Linked DNA regions of Homo sapiens: regions 2 and 3 are each linked to region 1. The links are contacts of gene promoters, found by promoter capture Hi-C in human tissues and cell types (Jung and others, 2019). All regions are on one chromosome and are shown on one strand. Each heading gives the region's core, a stretch centred on a gene start or on the middle of the fragment in contact. The rest is flanking DNA. Distances are from core to core; before and after follow the strand shown. Region 1 holds the start of SYNDIG1 (synapse differentiation inducing 1). Region 2 has its middle 52 kb from the start of SYNDIG1. Region 3 overlaps SYNDIG1 (synapse differentiation inducing 1).

Evidence for each region. The method cuts DNA at HindIII sites, captures the fragments that hold promoters and counts their contacts. A contact is called where the count stands out against the background at its distance.
Region 2: a fragment that was not itself captured here is called in contact with the fragment with the promoter of SYNDIG1 in region 1 in 1 of the 25 tissues and cell types used here (liver).
Region 3: a fragment that was not itself captured here is called in contact with the fragment with the promoter of SYNDIG1 in region 1 in 1 of the 25 tissues and cell types used here (dorsolateral prefrontal cortex).

The regions. Positions count from the first base shown.
Region 1 is chr20:24,467,706-24,471,844 of GRCh38, forward strand. SYNDIG1 (synapse differentiation inducing 1) reads left to right here and starts at 1,924. Exons shown (of 4, transcript NM_024893.3): 1 at 1,924-2,048. The HindIII fragment of the contact is 8,441 bases long and covers 1-4,139 here.
Region 2 is chr20:24,415,839-24,419,977 of GRCh38, forward strand. No RefSeq gene overlaps it. Among named protein-coding and RNA genes, the nearest start is that of SYNDIG1, 52 kb to the right of the region's middle. The HindIII fragment of the contact is 4,189 bases long and covers 1-3,967 here.
Region 3 is chr20:24,501,464-24,505,602 of GRCh38, forward strand. The region is part of intron 1 of SYNDIG1 (synapse differentiation inducing 1); the gene reads left to right. Among named protein-coding and RNA genes, the nearest start is that of SYNDIG1, 34 kb to the left of the region's middle. RefSeq lists enhancers at 2,248-2,749, 2,750-3,249. The HindIII fragment of the contact is 5,316 bases long and covers 1-4,139 here.

The sequences.
Region 1 (4,139 bases), core at 674-3,173:
TACACGTCCTGGCCCTGTGAGTTTCTTTTGAAATGAAGTGTAAGGCCCCTTTGAATTACAGAAAGATGTGTGTGTGTGTGTGTGTGTGTGTGTGTGTGTGTCATGGGGGAAGAGTCCACCTTCTGTTTCTTTCTTTTTTTTTTTTTTTTTTGAGACGGAGTCTCACTCTGTCGCCCAGGCTGGAATGCAGTGGCGCGATTAAATTCAAACAGCACCCAGGAGACAAAGGCGAGTCCTGGCTGCAGCCCAGGCAGGTGTTCTCTCGTCAAAACAAAATCTGCCTCAAAAGTCAATCCAGAGGCTGGGCAAGTGAAAGAGCAGTGACTTAGAGGCAGGGAACCCGAGCTTCAGGCTACTCCTGCACATTGGGTGGCTACACAATCTCAATTACCCTTTTTAAACTTCAATTTCTTCATTTGATAAATGGGATCAATGACTCTCCACCTCAAATGGGTCTAATAGTATCTGCTCAACCTAATGGCTTAGATGGGAAACTGCTTTATTCAGGAAAGGACTCCGGAAAGGTAAGCTGCTTTATTAAAGTGTGGTGGCATGTTCTTCCAAGTTGAGAAGTTCTGCTAGATGGGAGAAATGAACAGTGCCCGTTTCTGAGTGTTCCAGACCACAGCCTTGCAGCTCTGGGGACCTAAAGGAAGAAACATCAGGTGTGTCTCGCGGGGCTGCAGACATGAAGACGGGGATGGAATTCAGGTGATAGTACTGGTTCCACTCATCCGCGCCTCCTTCAAATGCCTCCTTCTGGCACTCTGCATTTCAGCATTCTCTTTGGGCTGCGGAGGCTCCCTAGAAGCCACGTCCCCTGAAAGGAATATAGGAAGGACCTCTTGTTCCTGGCACCACCTTTAACTCCTGCCCCTGCCCACCAGGACACCTGGGCAAGACGCAGCGCAATGGTGGGTTACCAGGCAGGAGGGAGGGCTCTAGGAAGGTTGGGAGCCATGGAACTCTGGAGCTTAACCTTCTCTGACCACCAGTGTACCAGCCTGCGGGTGGCAGGACTGGGGCCTCTGCCTAGTGTTGAAACGGGGGCGCACAGATGCTTTTCTAAATAACTTTTGACCCCCTTTCTGGTAAATCTTTTTTTCAGAGTTGATTCTCTATGAAATCTACACTGCAAACACCACCTCCTCCGCTCCTAGAACGCAGACTGTCTTACCACCGCCCTAGTTTCCTTCCAATTCCAACTGGGGCGGGCCCGCCATGGGCCAACAACAGGCTGGCTCAGGGCTGAGGGGGTCTCTGGAGTCTGAACTCCGCGCCCGCTTGCTCCTCCAGGGCTTAGCTGGTCAGGACTTGAACATTCGCCGGATCCATAAATTGGGTCATTTTTAACCTCAAAACCGAACCGCAGCCTGGGGAGGCCTTTAGGACCGAGGGGAGCCATCCCTTCCTCTAGTCGGGCAGCAAATTCCTGTCCTCCTAGTCCCCCGCAGCTATCCCCCGCCCCCAGCCTCTGTGGCCCTCACATTGTCAGACACTGGCCGCGGGCCACCATCTGGACGCGATCCCCCGCTAGGGCCTCCCTGGTCTGGGCCAAAGTTGGTGGCCACCTTCGCGCGGGCTGCGCCCTCCTTCTCTTCCCTGCCCTCCTCCCCCGGGGCCCGCGCCCGCTGCCTCCAGCACGCGCGTCGGCAGGCTCGGCAAGCGAAGAGGAGCGGCTCGCCCCAGGGCGCCCCTCGCCCAGCCTGCCGGCCAGGCGAGCGCGACGAGAGTCTCCCCGCACCCCTTCCTCTCCCGGGGGCCGAGAGGGTTGGGCTCCGCCCCGGCGCCGCAGCTCCCGACTCCCCGCCGCTCGGGCTGCCGCCGCTGCCCCGCGCCCGGCGCTCGGGGCAGCCGGGGGCGCAGGCGGAGAGCGCAGGGCGGGGAGAGGCGTGGGGAGCAGAGCGGCGCTGAGGGGAGGGCAGAGGAGGAGAGAGCCTGGCAGCGGAGGAGCAGAGGCGGGCGCCGCACCGCCCCGCACGCTCGCTCGCTCGGGAGAGTCGCGGGCGGCCGCTTGGGCGCACTTGCCGGGTCACCTTGTCCCGGAGGTAAGTCCAGACCTCCCGGCCGCGGGGGCGGGCGGAGGGGCCCGCAGTGGGCGGGGTCGCGGCAGGGGCCGCGAGCTGGCGGCGGGAGCTGGAGGCTGCCCTGCGCTGGCGGGTGTCCTAGTCCTGGCTCCGCCTCGGAGCGCGCAGACCCGGCGGCGGCGTGGCGCCCGCGGTAAGTCCGGGTGGTCGCCGCGACGAGACTTGGGAGACACGGGGTCGCAGGGCGGGAGGGGGAGCTGAGCCGGCAGAGAAAATGCCCAGGAAGGGGTCGATGCTGGCCTGGGCTGCACCTTGGTGCCTTGCCACCCCGGGAGACGCGAAGGGGCTGCTGTGCGAATTCGATGGGAGCTGGTGAGACCGAGAACTGAGAGCGTAGCGGAGCCAGGCTGCCCAGCAGGGCCATGAGGGCGCGCGGCGGGCCAAGGCTCTGCGGGTTCGGGCTGCCCCTCGGAGTGACCCGAAGGAGACCAGCCAGGGCTGGTGAGCCGGGCGGCCACGGAGCTGGGGACCTAGGTCTGTTTGGGAGTAGGAAGGGAAACAGACTAATTCTCCGAGCGGAGCGGCAGGCAAGGTGCAAGCGCGCTTGGGATGGGGAATCCCGACGGGCGACCGTGGCGGAAGCAGAGACTCCTGGAGCCTCTTTCCTCTAGCCAGGACAAGACCTGCCTTCAAAAGCTGTCTGGCCCCTGGCAGCCGCGACAGCCTGCAGCCCTGGGAGCCACAGCCCTGGCGCCGAGATGGGAGCGAGCACATACGCTTTTTTGGTTCCAATTTGAATCTCGCTTTTTCCTAGTCGTGATTTCTGCCTCTTCATGTGCACTCTCTGGGCAGTGAGGAGGAAGGAATGGCTCACTGGATGAGTTGGGCACTTTTCTTAGGGAAGGGGCTTTGTCCCTATGCGCTTTTTGCAAGACCCTACTAGAGTGGCTCTGGCAGCCGAGCTTTGAGGAGGCGGCCAGAGGGGCCGCTTGGCGTTTCTGAAAGACGAGAGGAAGGGGTCTTCTGGTAGTCCTGTTTTCCTTTGGGGGTTTCGTTGCACGCAGAGGCTTGGGCGCTTGGCACCCAGACTTCAGGTGCGCACAGTCCTCCTGCGACGTCAGATGCGCTGGCGCCGCGGCGCTCCTGGCTCGGACCGATGCCTGCGCCTTCCCTGGCCACGTCCTGGTGTTTAGTGCAGCAGACACCGGCCGAAGGCTTGGCTGATTGGGGGTGTCGAGGGGAGGGGGGCTGGGCGTTACACAGTGGCTCCGTTTTCTGGTTGGAATCAGTTGGTGAGGCGTGCGCGCGCGAGTCCGTGTATCTGTCCGTCTCCCTCCTACAGCCCAGCGTGTTTGGTCTGAGTCCAAAGAAGGAGGTGGTGTGTGTGCTGCGTAGACCTGCGCCTGTGGGGTGAGCAGCCTCATAGCCCCCAGAGCCGGCCAACTTCTCCGTGCTAGGCTGCGACCTCAAGGGCTGCCGCGTCGGGGATCGGAAGTGGTCTTCAAAGAGGGGTCTAGGTCGCGAAATCCTGGCAGCAGCCGAAGTGAAAAGGAGCTGCTAGGAGGCGGGCGGGGGGCAGTCTGATGTCCGTTCTGGCGCGGACAGGAAGAAACTGAAGTCGAATTTTTAGTTGAATTGCGTGCTCTGTGTTTGGCGGTGGTGTGGCCCGTTCTTTTGGAGGTCCACACCACAGGTATGAGGCCTGTGGGCCCTGAGGAAGCGCGATCCCCTTAATTCCTCCCTCCCCTCTCTCTCCACCGCCCGCCCCTTTGCAAGGAGCAAGCCTGACAGTAGCTGATCGGCGCCCTCTCTCACCCTGTCCCCATTTCCTGCCTGAAAACGGAATCCTCATAATCAAGAGGGCCTTGTTAAAAAAAAAAAAAAAAAGGAAAGAAAAGATGGAGAAACCTATTTTTAAACTTTTTTATTATGGAAAATTTCAGTTGTACACAGTGACAGACAGAGAATAGCACTGAAGCTTTGTGTACCCCCCACCCAGTCACCACCTGCAGTTACCTTTGGTAGAGTTTTGGAGGCCACAGAGTTTTGGAAGCCTTGTTTGATGAAGTATTTCAAAACTCATTCCAAAATGCTAAGTATTGGATAGTAGGT
Region 2 (4,139 bases), core at 623-3,122, 52 kb before region 1:
CTCATTTGCCTTGTGATATTTTATTGCATTGTGAAGCATGTGATCTCTGTGATCCACACCCTATTTGTACACTCCCTCCCTTTTGAAATCCATAATAAAAACCTGCTGGCTTTGCGGCTTGGGGGGCATCACGGAACCTGCCGACATGTGATGTCTCCCCCAGACACCCAGCTTTAAAATTTATCCTTTTGTACTCTTTCCCTTTATTTCTCAGACTGGCCGACACTTAGAGAAAATAGAAAAGAACCTCCATTGAAATATTGGGGGCTGGTTCCCCCGATACGGAGACTCAGGCGAGATGGTTAAACTCAGCTGGGGCCACTGGAAAGATCTTATAAGTGAGGCAACAAAAGTCAGGCCTTGAAGGATGGGGAGAATCTGGCCAAGAAGCCAGGAAAGAGGCTCAGGGAATCATAACCCATTCATCTTTCCAGTTTGAGTTCCTTCCCTTCAGCCTTCCTCAGGTGCACATTTCTCAGGAAAAAAAAAAAAGAAAGAAAAGTATGATGTGCTATGCTTTGCTGTCCTAATAAACAAGCTTTAAAAGTACTTCATCAACTTTGAAGCATGACACAAATGCAAGAGGACTATTTTTATTCACCTACAGGTAACTTAAGCTATTTGTATTCATCAGCAGGTCACTCAAATTGAAATGCATTTGGAAAATTTTGCTAATACCGTTCTTGCTAATATCCCTAACTTAGGATCTGCGATCATCTCAGCCTCCTGGGTCAATCATTCCCTGTTGTTGTTGTTCCCATTTTTAATCTCATTGTTATTAAACCCTGCCTTTGTACCACCGACTGTTTTAGCAGATGTCGTTGGGGAGCCTTTATGGGGCTCATGAACCCCTGCCCAGCTGTTGTGGGGTAAGCAAACTTCCCTGCTGGGTTGCCCTTGCTAACCTGAACCCCTTCTAGACATTCAGGAAAGTTATCCTCCCCAGGAGGGGCCCAAAGCCAACAACTGACTGACACAGGGGTTGATAGCTCATCCCCCTTTGCTTCTGGATGGGCAACTGCTGTGAGATCATTCACAGTCCGGAGCACCCATGGACGTGGGATGAAGCTGACATTCCACGTCTCCACTCTGCTGCTCCCCTTCCCTGGCATGTGTCCCTCACTATCCTGTGGCTCTCTCCTGAGAGCTCTGCCTCCATAAATCATGACTCAAGCTCTGCTTCCAGGGAACCTGACCTAGGACGATTCTTAAACACTTCACTGTAATGCCTCATTTTATCATTGCAATGAGATGGATGCATAGACATATGGTGCTAATTATTATCATTATTACAGATTAGGCAATTTGCCCAAATTCTTACAGCTAGGACTTGAATTCAGCTCACCACACCATGCCTTATCTCCCAGTTTGAACTGTTAGGTCTTTGGAAAGAAGCTGGTTATGCATCAGAGTGGGTCGTGTTTTAAAGTCTTCGTTGCTCAAAACTCCTTTTTATATTAACAGAAGGAGAAAAATCACACTTCTGCATATTAAATATTAGAGCAACAAGCTCTCACTAAAATAATTCAAGTGTCCCAGGGGCAGAGAGAGAAATGTTGAGCCTTCTATAACACCCCGGGGGTCAGATGAACAGAGAAGGTGGTCATTCAGCAAGCAAGACTGCAAATGTGGACTCTGAAGACACAGGTGCGGGCGGGAGTTTTTGTCTAAGCGTGAAACTCTGATACGTGGCATGCTCTGAGAATTATCAGGAACCGAGCTCCGAGGGTTTCCGCCCTTTATTGTCTGTCCCAGGCATCAGAGCCCAAGCACATTTATCTCCGGAGCCAGGGACATTCACGTCCAGTGTTTCTGGAATGGCACTCCACGCTGATTTATGTGTGCGGTCAGCAGAGGAGCAGCACACCAGCAGCTTCTAATGGAAACTCACTCCATTCACCATAAATATCTCATCTGCATGCAGGCCCACCACCAACTGGTTTCTGAGATGAGGCCTAGGATACTGCATTGCTACCCAGCTCTTCTGGGGCCCCTTGTCCATCCTAAATTAGAGCATCACTTTCTAGAGGAGAGTTCATTGATACCTAAAATAGGATTGAATTTTTTAAGACCATTGTAAAAAAAATAATATTTTAAGAGCAAGAGAATGAGTGAGAAGAAGAGTAGAATTCATTCCACAAAACTATATAAAGAATAATTTTTGCTGTCTATTTTTGAAAAGCATTTAAGGGTATTGGAAAATGCTTGCTCTAAACCAGATGTTGACAAACTTTATTTAAAGGGCCCGATAGTAAATATTTTAGGCTTTAGAGTGCTACAGTCTCTGCCACAACTACTCAATTCTACCACTGTGGCACAAAACCAGCCATAGACAATATGTAAGTGAATGCACATGACTGTGTTCCAATAAAACTTTATTTACGAACAGTGATTTGAATCTTATGTAATTTTCACATGTCATGAAATGTTATCCTTTTGATTTTTCAACCACTTAAAAATTTAAAATGATTCTTAGCTTGTAGGCAACACAGGCCCACAGGATGTAGGCTGGATTTGCCCACAAGCCATATTTTGCCAACCTCTACTCAATTCTATCTGAAAACCCTTTACTTTATTATAAATACAATGGCAAAGTGTAGATTTAACTTCCCTCTACCAACAATTACTAGGAGGAGTTAAACCAAACTATGAATACTGGTTATCTATTATATGAATAATGAATGGGGTTATAGGTGATTTTTATTTTCTTCATTATATTTTTTCAACATTTATCAAATATTTTACAATAAGCATATTTTCTGATTAATAAATAAATTTTAAAAATATGATAGAAATGGTACCTGTTATAGAGATTAAAATCTTGAAATTTAGCCTTAAAAAATACCATCTGCTCTCCTTCATGTGCAACATGGGGTATTGCTGGAAAATTGTCCAACAGACATAAACAATGTGCACAGAGGCAGGGGCCTGGGCCTTCACGACCTCCTCTTTGACTGTGTTATTTTAGGAAACTCCTTAACCTTCTCGGCCTCCACTGGGCTGTTACTCACATGAATATCATAATGCCTGGCTGGGGGAGAATCAAATCAGATAAAGCACATTCTTTCACAGTTCTGAAACCCTTTGTTTTAGGCTTTGCAAGAGTGAAAAATATTGTTCTATCTGAAAGCACATTCTTTCAAAGTTCTGAAACCCTTTGTTTTAGGCTTTGCAAGAGTGAAAAATATTGTTCTATCTGTCAGGGAATTAGAATTCTGTAATCTCCATTTAAGTGAATTTTTTATGGAGTCACCATTGGCTTTTCTTTGCATTCCTAAACTAGGACCCAATCTGGGATTCAGTTAACAGTTTTCTTCCTTTTTTTCCTGAATTCCTGGGCCAGAGCATCAAGCTTTGCCCTCATTTTTCTTGTCCTCACTCATCAGAGTGTCCCCAGATACTCTGAAAGTGATTCCAGGGGTTGGATGGAGCTGCACTTTGTCAGCAGGAGGGTGGCAGCAGGAGCTGGGCCAGGCTGACATCAAGGCCACGGCCCCAGGGCCCCAGCAACCTCTCCTGTTCCCTCCCACCTGGAGAAACCAGAGCCCCACATGCTGGGGCCTCAATCCAAGTGGTTCTTTTGTGAGTTTAAGGCTGACCTCCAGGCACAGAGCCTAACCGGGCTCGGAAGTTGGTCTGTGCCTGTCATAATGCCATGGAGGGTGGCTGCAAGTGACCATCACAGTGCCCTGGTGATGACTCTGCCCTAAAAGAAGTGAAGCTGGGAACTAGGGTACCCAGTTACATTCAGTCCTTAGAATCCACAGCTCTGTGGATCTTTCATTTGCTATGGGTTAATTAAGCCTCTTCAGTGGGCTGTGGCTCTGCTAGGTACTGGGATGCAGGGTGAAGACAAATATGACCCTGGCCTCATGGAGTTTATAATCCAGTGGGGAAGCTAGACACTAACCAAGAAGCCAGAGAAATTCTGTGATGACTGCCGAGCAGAAATGCATGTGAAGGGTAGGACATATCAGCCAGACCTAGTAGAAGGAGGCAGGGATAGAGACAGAGGAACCTTCCTGTGGGGTCCTATCTGTGACATGGAGCTGAGCAAAAGGTCCCAAGTGAAGTGGGGGAGGGGGAGGCCAGGGATGCAAAGGATCTGAGGCAGGACAGAGAGAGGGACCACCCAGAGT
Region 3 (4,139 bases), core at 1,207-3,706, 34 kb after region 1:
CCCTAAGCTGTGCTGTGCCCAGCCGTTTATGTGGCTGCATTTCTGATGGGAAGCTATATAGAGTAGGGACTGGGGACAGAGGTCCCAAGGCCACACCGGCTGGGTTCAGATTCCAGCCTTGCCACTTATTAGCTGTGTGACCATCAGTGACATACTTTGCCTCTCTGTACCTCTGTTCCCTCTTCTGGAAATGGGGGTAGTTATAGAATGTCCATGTCACAGGGGGTTATTACGTATTTCATGGTAAGCTTAGTCCCTGTGCTTCCGATATTATTCATCTGTCATGCACTAGACTCTGTCTTACAGAGTTAAAGAAGCACCCACTTGTGGTGTCTCATCCAGGAGAGTTTTATGCATCAGAGCAAGTAAGGCCGGTGCCCCAGGTGTACCCACTGGGCACTCACCTCTGCAGGCCCCGAGCTGCTTCTGGCTGACACCTGTGGCCTTTTTCCTGGGGATTCTTTTCCAGCAAGGGGAGACTGCTCTGCCCATGCCAGGGCAAGCTAAGGGCCGAGAACGAATGGCCCACGAGCAGCCCTTGGCCAGTGGCGGGCAGGACGTTGCTGGGAAGATGCCCCTGTCCTGATAGCTGTGAGTGAATGTCCTATACAGTCCCCTAGACGTTCCCACAGGGCTGAGCCCCAGCCACTGGCAGCAGCAACTGGCTTAACCACACATACCCCTCACCTTCTTTCTGTTCCCTACCTTTCTTGCCCCTACCCAGTGCTTTCTGGAACCACCTCCCAAGTGCACTCAGATCCTCGTCGCAGGGCCAGCTTCTGGGAGGTCTTGGGCATCATCCTGGATGCAGGAGTCATAGCCTTGTGGAAGCAGCAGGCCTGTTCTGCGTCATCTGCTTTCTCCCCATCACTAAGTGAATCCTGTCCAGGACAAGTGGCGAGCAGGGCTTGGAGTGTCACGTGGGAGGCAGTGTCTCTTGGGAAGCATCTCTGCCTGTGCATCAGTGCTGCTCTGATTCACAGAGCATCGTCCTGGCCTCTCCAGGATGAATCATACCCCGGGCACAGACAGGAATGAATGTCAGGGAGACAGAATCTCTCAGAATCCTCACCCTTGAATCTTCCCTGCAGAGTTCTGGGAAAGAATGACTTTGAAACAATCATTTATTTGACCCTGGCAGCTATTTCAGTGACTTTTAAGCAAGCTATTTTAGTGATTTTTAAGAGTTAGTGTCATTCCATGGATGTCCCATTCAAATCTTTGTTAAGAACATGCTAATTTGCTTTTCTGGATCAAATGCACATCCTCCAAGTGCATTGCCATTTGGCTTCTGGTTAGGATGGTGTGAAGGCCTTGGGGCTGTCCTCTCTGTTAAAGGAAATAAAATACAAAGGTCACTGAAGAAGAGAAGAGTGACAGTACTGATTCATACAGTGCCTGCTGACGTGTCTGGAAAGCAGAGCGCTGACGTGGGAGTTTTGTCTTTGCATTTATGTTAATTCTGCTTTAAACTCTGGGAAATTAAGTAGATACGAACTTTGGCACAATTATGTTCAGTGATCATTCAAGATGTCATAGCATGAAGCCCATCACACTTCCAAGTTTCAAGGGCCCTTTATCTGGGATGCGTGAATGGACAGATTCATGGTCAGGGTCTCAGAAGCTTTGTGGTCTTCAGCTGAGCTTGGGAAGCAGACTGTGCCCTCATTCTTCTCATTCCTTCTTCTCTGTTGCTCCTTCCTGAGGACTGTGGGGGAAGGCAGGCGTCCCCTGCCAGAAGGCGGCTTGTAATGCCTGGAAATATAGCTGGGGATGCGTTCCTTCTGCACGGTACTTATCACGCAAGGCAGGGCGGACAGGTGGCAATATAACCAGCTAACTAAATGCACAGATGATCCTAACAAGGTGGAGGAAAAAGATCAGGAAAAATGAGATCACACCAAGAGGGAGGTGAGCACCTCAAATATATTTTGGTGTCTAGAGCTGGCTGTGTGCTCAGCAGCAGTGCTGAGAGGGAGACACAATCAGCAGCATGACTCACAGTGTCCACGCGGTAAAAATAGACCAGGGGCTCAGGAGAAGCTCGTCTACTTTTGCTCTGATACGGGATGCAGAGTTCTCATAGAAGCAATGAGCGTCACCCCCAAAATCCCCCAATGGGAATGCCTCCCCAGCCCCCCAGCGCTCCAGTCCCTCTGACCCTTTGCTAGCTTTCCACTGCTCTTATCTGCAGAACTCATTTATTGAGCTCATGATCTCAGCCCCCTGGCACTCCAATCCCCCTGACCCTGTGCTAACTTTCCTACAGCTCTTATCTGCAGAACTCACTCATTGAGCTCATGATCTGCCTCTCATCTTTAGGTCAAGTGTGAGCTTCACAAGAACACAGGCTTCTTCTGGCTGCTTCCCTGCCACCCCCAGCGCCTACTGCAGGGTGCGTACTCGGGCATGACTTGTTGAATGACTGGATTGAAGACATTTCATGAGGATTGCTGCTTACAAAGCAGATCCGTGGGATCCAGGGAGAGCAGGTTTTTTTTTTTTTTTTTTTTTGAGACGGAGTCTCACACTTTCGCCCAGGCTGTAGTACAGTGGCATGATCTTGGCTCACTGCAAGCTCCACCTCCCAGGCTCACGCCATTCTCCTGTCTCAGCCTCCTGAGTAGCTGGGACTACAGGCACCTGCCACCACGCCGACTAATTTTTTGTATTTTTAGTAGAGACAGGGCTTCACCGTGTTAGCCAGGATAGTCTTGGTCTCCTGACCTCGTGATCCGCCCGCCTCGGCCTCCCAAAGTGCTGGGATTACAGGTGTGAGCCACCGCGCCCAGCCAGGAGAGCAGTTTTATGCTTTGCGGACTTTCATTGGTGTGGCTATCTGATGGCTTGTTTCACTGCAGTGTAGATTGTGGCATAGGTAGCCCGGGGAGCAATGAAGTCGCACATAATAAAGAGACCCTATGCGTAGCAAAAAGGCTTAAAGGAACCCCTGGAAAGAAAACAGGGAAAGACAGGACAGAGATGCAGCGAAGGAAACCCAAGCCCAAACAAGCCCGACTGAGCTCCCTTGGCCCTCTCTGGATGCCACCCTCACCCTGGCTCTAGGTCTCCATCTGTGGCTCGGAGGCTGCCTGGGGGCTGGGACCTGAGGCTGTATTGTCCCTGTGGTGGAGCATGGATGTTCTTAGTTTTCAGTTTTCTTCAGAATGAATCCGGATCCAAACTTTAAAATCTGTAGCTCATGAAGAACAGCTTCTACTTCAAAGAAGGCCAGTCACGAGGGAACATAGAGAGTTGGGAGATGTCAGAGTTGAGACGGAGACTAAACGGGGGTTGGCATATGCTGGCTCTCATGAGCTACGCAAAAGCCTTTGGTCTGTGCCCCGGGAGCTGGGTCACTGAAGAATTCCTGCAGAGCTGTCACAGAATCAGTTCCCCATCTGAAAGACCCTGTGACTGCTGCAATAGCCCAGTAAGGATGTGGGGAAGCAACTAGGAAATCGTTGAAGTGGCCTGGGTGAGAGGATGGTAGCTTGGTCCAGGGTGACAAGGGGGAAGAATCAGTAGGACTTGTTGATGCTTTGATTTTCATGGAGGAGGTGGTGAACAGATCCCAGGTGTGGGGCAAGGCCAGGTGAGCCGCGGCAGGGCTGTTCACAGACGTGGTGGGTGAGGAGCCAGCAGAGGGTCTGTGCGTGTCCAGCTTGCTAGCTGAGTGGTCATCGGCACAGGGTAGGTAGGTGGCACCGCGGGCTACAGGGAGATGAGCTGGAAAAGGCTGAAGAGAGGACCTGGCAAAGAGTCATTGAGAAGTCATTGGGAAGCAGGAAAACCAGCCAAGGGTGCGCAGCCAGGGGAGCCCTGGGGAAATTCTCTCAAGGAGAAGGAAGATGCCCAGGGTGTCATATTTGTCTGAGGTCAGGCCTGGTGGGCAGAGGCGGTCATCCTCTGGACTCACTGGCGTTTAGGACCCCCTCAGCGGGGAAGAGGGGGGCTCAGAGTGGCTCCTACATATCCAAACCCCAGATCTGCCCCCCTTACTCAACCTAGCAGCTAAATTGGGGTGGATTTTAGGAATCCACATGGATTGTTCCCTTCTGGGGTTTTTGTAAATGGCACTGCAACATTTTTAATAAAATTTAAATTGCAGAGCAGACTGGGTCCTCATTCTTAGGCAA